3 separate regions of the Homo sapiens genome follow, and regions 2 and 3 are each linked to region 1. The links are contacts of gene promoters, found by promoter capture Hi-C in human tissues and cell types (Jung and others, 2019). All regions are on one chromosome and are shown on one strand. Each heading gives the region's core, a stretch centred on a gene start or on the middle of the fragment in contact. The rest is flanking DNA. Distances are from core to core; before and after follow the strand shown. Region 1 holds the start of DIS3L2 (DIS3 like 3'-5' exoribonuclease 2). Region 2 overlaps DIS3L2 (DIS3 like 3'-5' exoribonuclease 2). Region 3 overlaps DIS3L2 (DIS3 like 3'-5' exoribonuclease 2).

Region 1 (4,260 bases), core at 1,201-3,700:
CAAACTGACAAAAAACAAATGGAGAAGGGACTCCCTATTCAATAAATGGTGCTGGGATAACTAACTAGCCACATGCAGAAGATATAAAACTGTATATATTTCATGATATACATAATGGGTTAAAGATTTAAATGCAAAGACCTCAGTCAGGCACAGTAGCTCATGCCTGTAATTCCAGCACTTTGGGCAACTGAGGCAGGCAGATCTTTTGAGCCTAGGAGTCAGAGACCAGCCTGACAACATGGTAAAAACCACATCTCCATAAAAAATACAAAAATTAGCCGAACGTGGTAGTGCGCACCTGTAGTCTCAGCTACTCGGGAGGCTGAGGTGGGAGGATCACTTGAGCCTGGGAAATCGAGGCTGCAGTGAGCTGCAGTCACGCTACTGCACTCCAGCCTGGGTGACAGTGAGACCCTGTCTCAAAATAAAATAAAAGACCTCAAGCTATAAAAATCCTAGAAGAAAACCCAGGAAATACACTTCTTGACACTGACCTTGGCAAATTTTTGGCTAAGTCCCCATAAGCAACTGCAGCAAAAACAAAAATTGACAAGTTGGAACTAATTAAACTAGAGCTTCTGCACAGCAAAAGAAATTATCAACAGATTAAACAGACAACCTACAAAATGGGCGAGAATATTCACAAACTATGCATCTGACAAAGGTCCAATATCCAGAATCCCTATGGAACTTAAATCAACAAGCAAAAAACAAATAAGCCCATTTTTAAAAATGGCCAAAGGACATGAACACTTCTCAGAAGAAATACAAAAAGAAAAAACCACGACATACAAGCAGCCAACAAATATATGGAAAACATGATCATGACTAATTATCAGAGAAATGCCAATCAAAACCACAATGAAATACCATCTCACACCAGTCAGAATGGCTATTATCAAAAAGTCAAAAAACAACAGATCCTCATTAGGCTCCCTTGGAAAGGGAACATTTAAACTACTGTTGGTGGGAATGTAAATTAGTTCAGCCACTGTGGAAAGCAGTTTGGAGATTTCTCAAAGAACTTAAAGAGCCACCATTTCACCCAGCAATCCCACTGTTGGGTATATAACCAAAGGAAAACAGACCATTATACCAAAAAGACATATGCAGTTGTATGTTCACGGCTGAGCTATTCACAATAGCAAACACACGGAATCAACCTAGGTGACCATCAATGGTGGACTGGAAAAAAAAAATGTGGATGTACAGGATGGAATACTATGCAGCCACAAAAAAGGAAGATATCATGTCCTTTACAGCAGCACAGATGGAGCTGGAGGCCATAATCCTAAACGAATTAGCACAAGAACAGAAAACTAAACACCACACGTTCTCACTTATAAGTGGGAGCTAAACATTGAGCACACTTACAAGTGGGAGTAGAAACATTGAGCGCACATGGACATAAACATGGGAACAGTCGGCCGGGTGCGGTGGCTCACGCCTGTAATCCTAGCACTTTGGGAGGCCAAGGCGGGCGGATCACGAGGTCAAGAGATCGAGACCATCCTGACTAACATGGTGAAACCCCGTCTCTACTAAAAATACAAAAAAATTAGCCGGGCGGGGTGGCGGGCGCCTGTAGTCCCAGCTACTCGGGAGGCTGAGGCAGAAGAATGGCATGAACCCAGGAGGCGGAGCTTGCAGTGAGCCGAATCGCGCCACTGCACTCCAGCCTGGGCGACAGAATGAGACTCCGTCTCAAAAAAAAAAAAAAAAGGTAACGGTAGACACTGTAGACTACTGGAAGGAGGGGAGAGATGGGGGATGTGGGTTGAAAAACTACCTACTGGGTTCTATGCTCAATACCTGGGTGCAATATACCCATGTGACTAACCTGCATGCGTATCCCCCATATCTAAAAGTTTATTAAAAAAAAAAACTCTCTATGATCAATAAAGGAGATAAAGTGTATCACTGTGGAAAGCGCAAACGTCAAGGACATGTTATAATTAAGCGGCTGCCCTTCAAGATTCCCGAGGCTCCCCATCCCTGCCAGTCCTGAACATCTCGATCAAGACCCTAGAGAACGCGTCCACAGGTGACCCGAGCCTCGGGAGGCGTCCTCTCTACAGCAACAGGCTCTAATTCTGGTCTCGCTCCCCTCACGCCATCCTAGGCTACAAGGGCCCCGGCGCTATAAGCGCGGCCTGGGAGGCCGGGTCGGTCAGGAGCGGAGAGTGGGGAGCTGGGGACATTGAGGGAGATGCGGGACAGGGAAGACGCGTGGGCCGGGGAGCAACGCCAGAGGCGGAAGACGCTCGTCCCGGGCCGCCACCACAGGTGCCGGGCGAAGCGCCGCGGAGCCCCCCAGAGGCCAGACCCCGGGTCGGTCCCGAGGGGGTCGTGCAGCACTAGGCGGTGCAGGGGGCAGGCGAGTGAGGGCCTCACCGTTTCTCCCCGGAGGCCGGCGCCGCCGCAGTCCCGCAGTTGCTAAGGAGAATGCTCTTCCGGGTCACGGGCGCGGCGTTCTAGAGAGCGACGGTGGCCGGGCGAGGCCGAGAGCGAAGCGCGCGGGGTGTGTGCGCGGTGCAGGAGCTCGTAGTCGGCGGTTCAGCTGCGACAAGGGCGAAATGGCCAGGCCAGGGGCCGCCGCGCCTTCTCCGGCCTCGCTCGCGGGGACAACTGGCTGCAACGGTTGGCTCCCAGTGGGCGGCCTCTGAGACGCCTTGTGCCAGGCGCCGGCTGGCTCCGGGCCCCTCTTCCACCGGAAGGAGCCTTCCAGACCCGGCTCCTGAACCTCCAGGCTCTGCTCCACTGGGCCAGGTCTTGCACGGCAGACGCCGCCGGCCCCTTTCCTGTTACAAGGCTTTGCTCATTCTTTCATTTACTCACTGCTCATTTATTGGACAACTGCTTGGGGCGAGGTGCAGTGCTGGCACTGGGGATACAGAGATGGACAACCCCCGCATGGTCCCTGCCCTCAGGATGTGAGGCTGATGGCAGAGCAAGCAGATGACGTCCTGCACGTGGGGATGATCGAAGGAAAGGAGACTAGGGGAGCCTGCCCAAGGGGCCCACCCAGACACGGGTGGGGAGCAGCTGATGTTGGAGACGTCGACCTAGTATAAAGGGTTGGGAAGAGGGTTTCAGGTGAGAGAGGAAGCGCAGCCGAGAAAGCCCCCGACAGTTCAGCCCGCCCAGGGAAGCGTGTTGAGAGGAAACAATCGTTAAGTACGGGACCTAGGAAACACCAATATTGTAGATGTGAGCAAAGGAAAAGGAAATCCAAAGAGCAGCCAGAACGTTCGGGAGAGCACAAGAGGAAAGAATGCCAGTGAGGGGATGGCCGCCATTCTCAAGCTATGGAGATCAAGTGTCCATTGGTGACCATAGAAAAATCAAACTTCCCTTTGGGAGGCCGAGGCGGGCGGATCACCTGAGGTCGGGAGTTCGAGACCAGCCTGATCAACATGGAGAAACCCCGTCCCTATTAAAAATAATAAATTAGCCAGACGTGGTGGCACATGCCTGTAATCCCAGCTACTCAGGAGGCTGAGGCTGGTGAATCGCTTTAACCCCGGAGGCGGAGGTTGCAGTGAGCCGAGATCGCACCATTGCACTCCAGAAAAAAAAAAAGAGAGAGGGAAGGAAAGACGGGAGGGCAGGGCAGGGTAGGGATCAAACTTCGGGAATACAATGTGGACAGATGCTTGAACCACCGTATGCTCCATATTGAAAAAGGAAAAGAGATGCATTAAATTGTGCCTATATTTCTCTTTTTTTTTTTTTTTTTTTTTTTGAGACGGACTATCGCTCTGTCGCCCAGGCTGGAGTGCAATGGTGCGATCTCGGCTCACTGCAACCTCCGCCTCCTGGGTTCAAGCAGTTCTCCTGCCTCAGTCCCGAGTAGCTGGGACTACAGGCGCGTGCCACCACTCTCGGCTAATTTTTGTATTTTTAGTAGAGACGGGGTTTCACCGTGTTAGCCAGGATGGTCTCACTCTTCCGCCCATCTTGTCCCAAAGTGCTGGGATTACAGGTGTGAGTCACCGCACCCGGCCAGTGCGTTGCAGTAGTCTAAGAAAATTCAGGGTTTCCCTTAGTAACTATGAGCTCCATGAAGGTGGAAAACTTTGCATCTGCAGTACCTGCCACACACACAGGCCTCAATCGATGTTTGCTTAAAGACTAAATGAACCCAAGGAACCTTTGTTTTTTAATGTTCACACAGACCTTTCTAGAACCCTCAGGAAAACTGTGATTTCAGCAAAACTTGTCTTTGAAATGTAGAGGGTAGAGGAAACCCAGCAA
Region 2 (4,307 bases), core at 970-3,469, 90 kb before region 1:
GTTTTGAAAATAAGCCTCTATGGATCCATTTTGGCCTAACAGACAATATAAACTTTCTGTATGTTCCATGAGGACAGTACACTATGTTATATTCAATGATATGTTCTCTTATCTGGTACACAGTAGATGTCCAAAATAATATTTGTTGAATGAATTGTCGCATCACTGAAGAAGAAAAGAAACACTGATACTGTCATATTATGATATAATTAAAAAATATAAATGTGTTCTTCATCCCCAGTTCCTAATACAGAGCTCCTAAAAACCCCAGGAATTTTCTTAGTGATGGGGTGAGAGGAGCATCTTTTGTTATTGGTAATAAGCCCTTTTCGAACATACCTCAGTTTATGCTAATGAGGGACTCTTGGAGGATGGGGCCAGCTGCCAGAGAATGAATCATGTGATTAGAGGGTTGGAACTTTCAGCCCCACCCCCTGACCTCCAGAAAGGGACGAGGGGCTGGAGATTGAGTTCAATGGCCAATGATTTAATCAATCATCCCTGTGTAATGTGGCCTCCATAAAAACCATAAATGAGTTCAGAAAGCTTCAGGGTTGGTAAACACAGAGAGGTGCTGGTAGGGTGGAGGACTTCAAGAGGGTGTGGCAGCTCCATGCCCCTCCATAGAGGCACTATGTACCTCTTCATCTGGCTATTCATCTGCATCCTTTGCAATATCCTTTATAATAAACTGGTAAACATAAGTCAATGCTTCCCTGAGTTTTATAAACCATTATAGCAAATTACTGAACCTGAGGGGGCCATGGGAATCCCCAAATAATAGCCAGTCAGAAGTACAGGCAGCCCGGACTGTGACTGGCACCTGGGTAGAGGGCAGTCTTGTGGTATAAGCCCTTAACCTGTGGGGTCTGTGCTAACTCTGCGTAGTGTCAGGATTGAGTTAAAATGTAGGACACCCAATTAGAGTCTGAGGAGAACTGGTTGGTGTGGAAAATCCATGCAGTTGATGTCAGCAGTGTTGAGAGTAGTATAGAAAAACAGTGTTTCCTTTTAGACATGTAAGTATTCTCCTTGCTTTTATTTTAAAAAGTATACTTTTAAACTACTTTTAACATAATAATAAAACTGACACCAACATATTTTCTAAATTCTGTATAGTCTTAACAGAAGTACCTTGAAAATGAAGTTTAGATGTTGTATAAACAAAAACTCAAGTTCAAGAATTTACTCATTTTCTTTGGATTTAGGAACTGACTTTTTATCTGTTACCAGACATTGTCTCCTCATGAATTAAATCAATATGCTCTGGTCTATTTAGAAATAAGCACATGAAGAATGAAAAAGAAATACTATAGTCCAGTCCATCTCACAAAGAAATCTATGTCTGCAACATGCAGTGTTATCAAAGCCCTAGAAGAGTGCCTAACGCAGAACAGGTACTCAACAACAAACGGCACTTGCCATTTTTAACATCATCACATAGTGGGAGTCATTCATAGTAGGTCATGCAAATACCACCCAGAAGAAAACATCAAATGCCACTGGAATGTGAACAGAGACAATATAAAGGGCCCTATAATATGTGAAAAACATCTAAAGATTTTTCAATTCAATAAAACAGCAGCATTGAATAACAATTGTAAAGATATGAAGGAAAGGCTTCCCAGAGGCAACAACCTGTGAAACCAGTCTAGAAAGATGAGTAGGGGAAAGAGGAAGAGACACATGCAGAGAACTGCAAGCAAAGGAAACTGTGTATAAAAAGAAAATGTAAGCATGCAGCTGCATGGTGCATTCAAAGACCTTCTGTATGTGGTGCCCAAGATTAAGGGTATGCTAAAGGAAACAGAGTTGCCCAACAGGGAAGAGGGCAGGTCATGGAAGGCCTTTATGTCATACAAAGGAATAAGAATGTAATTGGTAATAAAAACCTAAAAGACTCCAGTCTGAGCTGGTACTAACTGAGAAATAGTTAAACTACTGTATTTGAGACCCCAAGGAGAAAACAGACCATCCTGGATCAACTGAAATCTACAATCAAGTTTATTTAACTCTGTAAACAAAAAGAAATTAAGAAGGAGGCTGGGCACAGTGGCTCACGCCTGTAATCCCAACATTTTGGGAAGCCGAGGCAGGTGGATCACCTGAGGTCAGGAGTTCGAGACCAGCCTGACCAACACGGCAAAACCCCGTCTCTACTAAAAATACAAAAAATTAGCCAGACATGGTGATGGGCATCTGTAATCCCAGCTACTTGGGAGGCTGAGGCAGGAGAACTGCTTGAACCAGGAGACGGAGGTTGCAGTGAGCCAAAATCGCACCACTGCACTCCAGCCTGGGTGACAGAAGGAAACTCCATCTCAAAAAAAAAAAAGGAAATTAAGATGAAAACAAATCCAAAATCAACTATAAACATTAATGAAGAAACATTATAGAAGACATTTATAAACAATATATCCAATCTTTTATATTTGGGGGGAGAATTATCCAGCTCCCATGTGCAAACATCCAGCAGAGCTGACTTGATTCATTGCTTTGTTTTCTCTTCCAATCAAAGCTAGTTCTTTTTTTTTTTTTTTTTTTTTTTTTTTTGAGACGGAGTCTCGCTCTGTCGCCCAGGCTGGAGTGCAGTGGTGGGATCTCGGCTCACTGCAAGCTCCGCCTCCCGGGTTCACGCCATTCTCCTGCCTCAGCCTCCCAAGTAGCTGGGACTACAGGCGCCCGCCACTACGCCCGGCTAATTTTTTGTATTTTTAGTAGAGACGGTGTTTCACCGTTTTAGCCGGGATGGTCTCGATCTCCTGACCTCGTGATCCGCCCGCCTCGGCCTCCCAAAGTGCTGGGATTACAGGCGTGAGCCACCGCGCCCAGCCGAAGCTAGTTCTTAAGAAAACAAGTTTCTGCTTTGTAAGATCACTAAATTTAGTGAATTCATCCTGTGTTTTTGGTCTTCCTAGTCGTAAAAGTTTACATCACAATAAACAATCCTATCCTTTTTCTGAAGTTTGGAAACACTGAAATTGTTCAAAAAGTATCTATTCCCTGCCTACTGTATGCCAGTTAACAGGTGGCTAGATAGAAGGAAAATGAAAGAATAAAACTCACGTTTTAAAAGTACCTACTACTTGTCAGACACTATTTTAGGTGATTACAGTTCATTAATCCTTATCAAAAACTTATACCATTTATAGGTGAGGCCCCTAAAGCCCAGAGCCAGTAAACAAAGGATCTAGAATGGAGACCCCAATCTAACTTGAAAGGTTCCTGTTGTTACCTTAACACCATGAATATAAATAAAATAAGACAAAACCCCTGCCCTTACCAGTTGAGACTTGGGAGGAATGCATGCGTCTCTTCCTTTAAACATACAGTTCCCTTGCCTTAAATATTCTCCTCTCCCCTTAATTTTCATTTCGCAAACTCTCCTTTCCAACTGCAATTGAAATGTCACTCTTACAAGAAATTTAAGTTCCCTTAGGCAGAGCCATTGTCTCCCACTCCATACACCTCCTTCATCTCTGTGCTCAGATCTCTGTTAAAACATATCACACAGCAATGTGGCTCTCTGTCTACACATCTGATTTCTGCAATGGTCTCCAAATTCATCGAGGGTAGTCAAAGTGTGTTCATCTTTGTATCTCCAGGACCCATGCCAGTGCCACGTACAAAGCTGCCAATCAAAAAATGTCGAATAAACAAATGGATGGTGGAAATCCTCCAAATAAAAGTGTCAGTTTAAACTAGGAAACTACATAAAGATCTATCTGGAAAAGAACGTAAAGAAAGAAAAGAGGACATAGGCTAGAAGCTTAAGAAATGTCTACAACCGGCCGGGTGCAGTGGCTCACGCCTGTAATCCCAACACTTTGGGAGGCCGAGGTGGGTGGAACACCTGAGGTGAGGAGTTCGAGAGCCTGGCCAACATGATGAAACCCTGTCTACTAAAAAAAAAAAAAAAATACAAAGATTAGCTGGGCATGGTGGTGCACCTATAATCCCAGCTACTCAGGAGGCTGAGGCAGGAGAATCACTTGAACCCGGAAGGCAGAGGTTGCAGTGAGCCAAAATCACGCCATTGCACTACAGCCTGGGCGACAGAGCGAGACTCCGTCTCAAAAAAAGAAAAAAGAAATGTCTACAACTAAGTGGAGAAAAGAGAGAAATCAATAAAAAACAAACATACTGAATAGAAGAAACAGAACTGGGACATGGAGCTAATGAGAGGTTATTACAAAGAAAAGGGAAATCAATGGTCTTAAATCACTGTAGAAAGCTCCAGGAAAATGAAAACTAAGCAAACAACCAATGAAAACAGGTAGGAAATCAGTGACAACCATGAAAAGAAC
Region 3 (3,988 bases), core at 955-3,454, 110 kb before region 1:
CCTGAGGATAAAGCCCTTGGGGAAGACTCAAATAATGGGGTTTCAACAAGGAATAGGAGTGAGCAAAGTAGAGAGAATTTAAACATAACTATGGATATGGGAATCACAAGAAACACTGAAGTTTTTATTATGAATCTTCACATTCTATTGCACAATCGTCCCTGTGCTTTTATACACATTAACTGATTGGATCCACCCAATGACCCTGGGTGATGCACAGGAGAATGAGTATCTCCATCTCACAGAGGAGGAAATGACTTCAGACATGTCACAATCTCACAGCTACTAAATGGCAGAGTTGTAATGTGCCTACAGGTCTAGGACTCTAAATGCAATTCTCTTAGTCCTGGACACTGAAGGAAATCATCCACAGGAGTTGAAAACAAAGAGATTCAGAGTGAACCTCACCCATACAGCTCCCATCCCTGACACACATTGCATGAAATGCCTCTGAACCTTTTGTTGGCCTAGCAAATAATCAAAATTCAAGACCCAGCTCTTCTGTGAATGTTTATCTGCTAACTTCTCTCTCTCTGCCTAAATGTTGTTGCCTTCCTCTGCAGCACTGCTAGTCCTTAGCCATTCTTTCACTATACGGTTCCTCGGCCAGGTGTGGTGGCTCAAGCTGTAATCTCAGCACTTTGGGAATCCGAGGCAGGCAGATCACTTGAGCTCAAGAATTCAAGACCAGCCTGGGCAACACGGCAAAACTCCGTCTCTACCAAAAATAAAAAATTAGCCAGGCATGGTGACATGCGCCTGTGGTCCCAGCTACTCGGGAGGCTGAGGAGGAAGGATCATTGGGACCCAGGAAGTCAAGGCTGCAATGAGCTGTGATTGTGTCACTGCTCACGTGGTGAACCTGGGTAACAGAGCGAGATCCTTTCTCAAAAGCAAAAAAAAAAAAAAAAAAAAGGTTCCTTGATGGGGCTATATTTCATTTATTTGTTTGCATATTTTTTCTTCCACTAGACAGTAAACCACATTACATTCATTTTTATATTTCTGAGAGTCTCCCATGATCCATGGCACATAGAATGTGCTCAGTAAATATTGATTCTCTTTTCTCTTCTTCTGAAGAGAATGAGAAAGACTTGAATCAGCTGTAAAAGAAGCATTTGCAAAAAATAGTGAGAAATAAATACTAAGCAGCAAGAGCCAGCTAAATTAAAATGCATGTCCATAAGATACTTCATGATACAGCAATGTCCTCCATTAACACAATGTGTCTGGAAACCAGGAAATAGTCAACAATTATTTCATCAAAATTGAAACTTATCACTGTAAGAGATACAAGATAAATAAATGCAAATGAATAAAATTGGGAGGCACTGAAATAAATTCATTTTTCTAAAATAATTCTATGCCTTTATATCTAAATTATAACTCCAGTTTTCAATATAAATGCAAATATAACCATAAAGTTAACTGCTCCCCAACTTGAAAAGAAGTGTCTTAGCAAGAAAAGTCACAAATGTCCAGATGAAGGAAAGAAAGCCTAGATCTGGCAACACCTCAGAGGGACATTTCCTGATCTTTCCAGAGTTGTGAAGTAGCAATCTGTCACTCAGAAAGCTGGAAATCTCGTCTACGCTGTGTAGTAAGTTAGATCAGTTGCAAACAGCAATTCAAACCTACCAGGATCTAGAGAAGAAACTGGTCACTTCAAAACTGTTTGATGTGCATTAGGTTTTTCTTCCCTTCCTTTTAAAATCAATATACCGTATTTCAAAATTGAAAAGCAAACAGAAAAAGTCCCTGTAACCAAAAAATTCTAATGGAATCCTAAATAAAAGTGCCAGGTAACCTTTCCATTATGCTGGCTCACCCGAACTCCAAGCATGAAACATTTCATAGCTTCCCTGTTTACTGATATAGAAAAAACCTTTCCTCGAGCTCAAAGACCATCATTAAAGAGTGCTGTTTTAAATCTTATAAAAAGAGCAAGTCCATATTAGCACTGGAAAATTCTGTTGCAGCAAATAAACCCTATTACATTCTCCTTAGGCAGGGGGTTGCTATCAACTTGGTATTATGGAGTTTTTCCAAAAGATTCACATATACCCATGTCCACAGACATTTTCCGCGGAAATGGCTTGAGAACTGTGTCCACTGACACTTTGTGCACAGGAAATAATGCCCTGTCCACCCCACTACCTGAGCCTCGGATTCAGAGCTAAAGCATGTCAGGAAGTCCAGCAAAGAGCTGCTTTTCATTTCTTGGCTTCCCTGGCTAGGCTTAAATGACAGCACTCACTTGCCACACATGTTTTAACAAACTTTCAAATCCCTTAATGGCACACTCGGGACAAAGGATAATACACTGTTCAGGAAACACCTTGAAGCCAAGAAAAGCAACTGATATTTCCACAGGGAGCTCTTGACAAGGCTTGCCAATAAGCTTTTCATTATAAAATTTAACTATGGGCACTATCATTTAAAAGACATATTTACAGACATTTTCAAGGGCGTATTTGTTGGGAACTTCGTTTGCTTAGGGTAGCTAATCCAAACGTACCTTTTATCTAGTTAACAGCCAAAGAATGAACAATCTCTCTCCATTCTTCCAATTACTCAGCCCAAAATCCCTGTGCAGTCCTTATCAATCAATCATTCGACTTCCTTCCCCACCCCACCTCAACCTCCCCTTCTCTCAAACACACAGCAACACACACACACACACACACACACACACACACACACCCCACATCCCAACTGTCAGCTGATCTTGTCAGCTCTACCTTCATTGCCACCATCCTGGTTTAGTCTCCATCATCTCCATCCTGGAAGTAAGCAATAGCCATGTAAGGGGTCTCCCTGCTTCTACCCTTGCCTCCTTTCAGTCTATTCCCAACATAACAGAGTGAGCCTATGAAACATAAGTGATATGTCAGTTCTCTACTCCTACCACTCTAAGCCTTACCACTTCAATCAGAGCCAGAAACAGAATCCTACCTATGATGTAAAGGCTCTACCTGACTGCACCCCCACCCCGGATCCCTCCGACCTCGTCTCTGACAATTCTCTACCTCAGCCCCTTTGCTATTCCTTGAGCACACTAGGAACGCACTGCCATTCCCCAAGATCTCCATAAGGACAGCTTCCTCTCTTCCTTTGTTTCTTCCCAAAGTCATGCTCTCAATGAGGTCTTCTTTCATCACCCTATTTAAAATCTCAATCCTTATCCCCCAAAATCATATTTCCTTTCCTTATTTTTTTTCTCTTCAGCACATATCACCATTGAGTATGCTACATGTAGTATTTTATTTAATATTATTATATCTTTCCCAGTGCAACACAAACTCCATGAAGGCCACTGCCACCTGAAACTCAAAACATCAAAAGCACTCTGGTCCTTCCCCTCAAAGCATTTCCCTTTCCTGTTCTTCTCTTTCTTCAAACACCACTACTACTTCTTCCAGGCCACTCAAGCTGAAAACCTTGCAACTACATTTGACTCTTCCCACTGCTTAACATACCAGTCACCAAATCCTTCACTTACCTTTTTACAAGCAATCTTAGAGCTCCACAAATTCCCTGGTCTTCTAAGTGACACCACCCTACAAATCTCCAGAAATAAAAATTCTGATTATCCTCTTATTCAAAAACATTCCCATGGGTTTCTCTTTCCTAGAGAAACTACTTATCAGCCAGGTACAGTGGCTCATGTCTATAATCCCAGCATTTTGGGAGGCCAAGGTGGAGGACTGCTTGAGCCCAGGAGTTTGAGACCAACCTGGGCAACATAGTGAGACCTCGTCTCTATTTTAAAAAGAGAAACTACTTCTCTATTCTTTGGCTTACAAGACCTTGACTTTCTCAATGTCCACTGACCTTTTTCAGTTATTTTAATCTTATCTGCCATTTCCTTCCATTATACACCATTCACAGACCACTGCAAACTCTGTCTTGGGTTAAATCCCACCAGCTCAATAACAGGTTTCTTTTTTTTTTTTCTTTTTTTTGAGACAGGGTCTCACTCTGTTGC

What was found. Contacts are between HindIII fragments. The study calls those that stand out against the background at their distance.
Region 2: a contact is called between a fragment that was not itself captured here and the fragment with the promoter of DIS3L2 in region 1, in 2 of the 25 tissues and cell types used here (bladder and mesenchymal stem cells).
Region 3: a fragment that was not itself captured here is called in contact with the fragment with the promoter of DIS3L2 in region 1 in 4 of the 25 tissues and cell types used here (aorta, hippocampus, lymphoblastoid cells and 1 more).

Annotation. Positions count from the first base shown.
Region 1 is chr2:231,959,903-231,964,162 of GRCh38, reverse strand. DIS3L2 (DIS3 like 3'-5' exoribonuclease 2) reads right to left here and starts at 2,450. Exons shown (of 21, transcript NM_152383.5): 1 at 2,398-2,450. RefSeq lists a silencer at 2,193-2,352 and an enhancer at 2,483-2,572. The HindIII fragment of the contact is 18,963 bases long and covers 1-4,260 here.
Region 2 is chr2:232,050,058-232,054,364 of GRCh38, reverse strand. All of the region lies in intron 5 of DIS3L2 (DIS3 like 3'-5' exoribonuclease 2), which reads right to left. Among named protein-coding and RNA genes, the nearest start is that of DIS3L2, 90 kb to the right of the region's middle. The HindIII fragment of the contact is 4,683 bases long and covers 1-4,307 here.
Region 3 is chr2:232,071,499-232,075,486 of GRCh38, reverse strand. The region is part of intron 5 of DIS3L2 (DIS3 like 3'-5' exoribonuclease 2); the gene reads right to left. Among named protein-coding and RNA genes, the nearest start is that of MIR562, 99 kb to the left of the region's middle. RefSeq lists a silencer at 1-21. The HindIII fragment of the contact is 9,302 bases long and covers 1-3,988 here.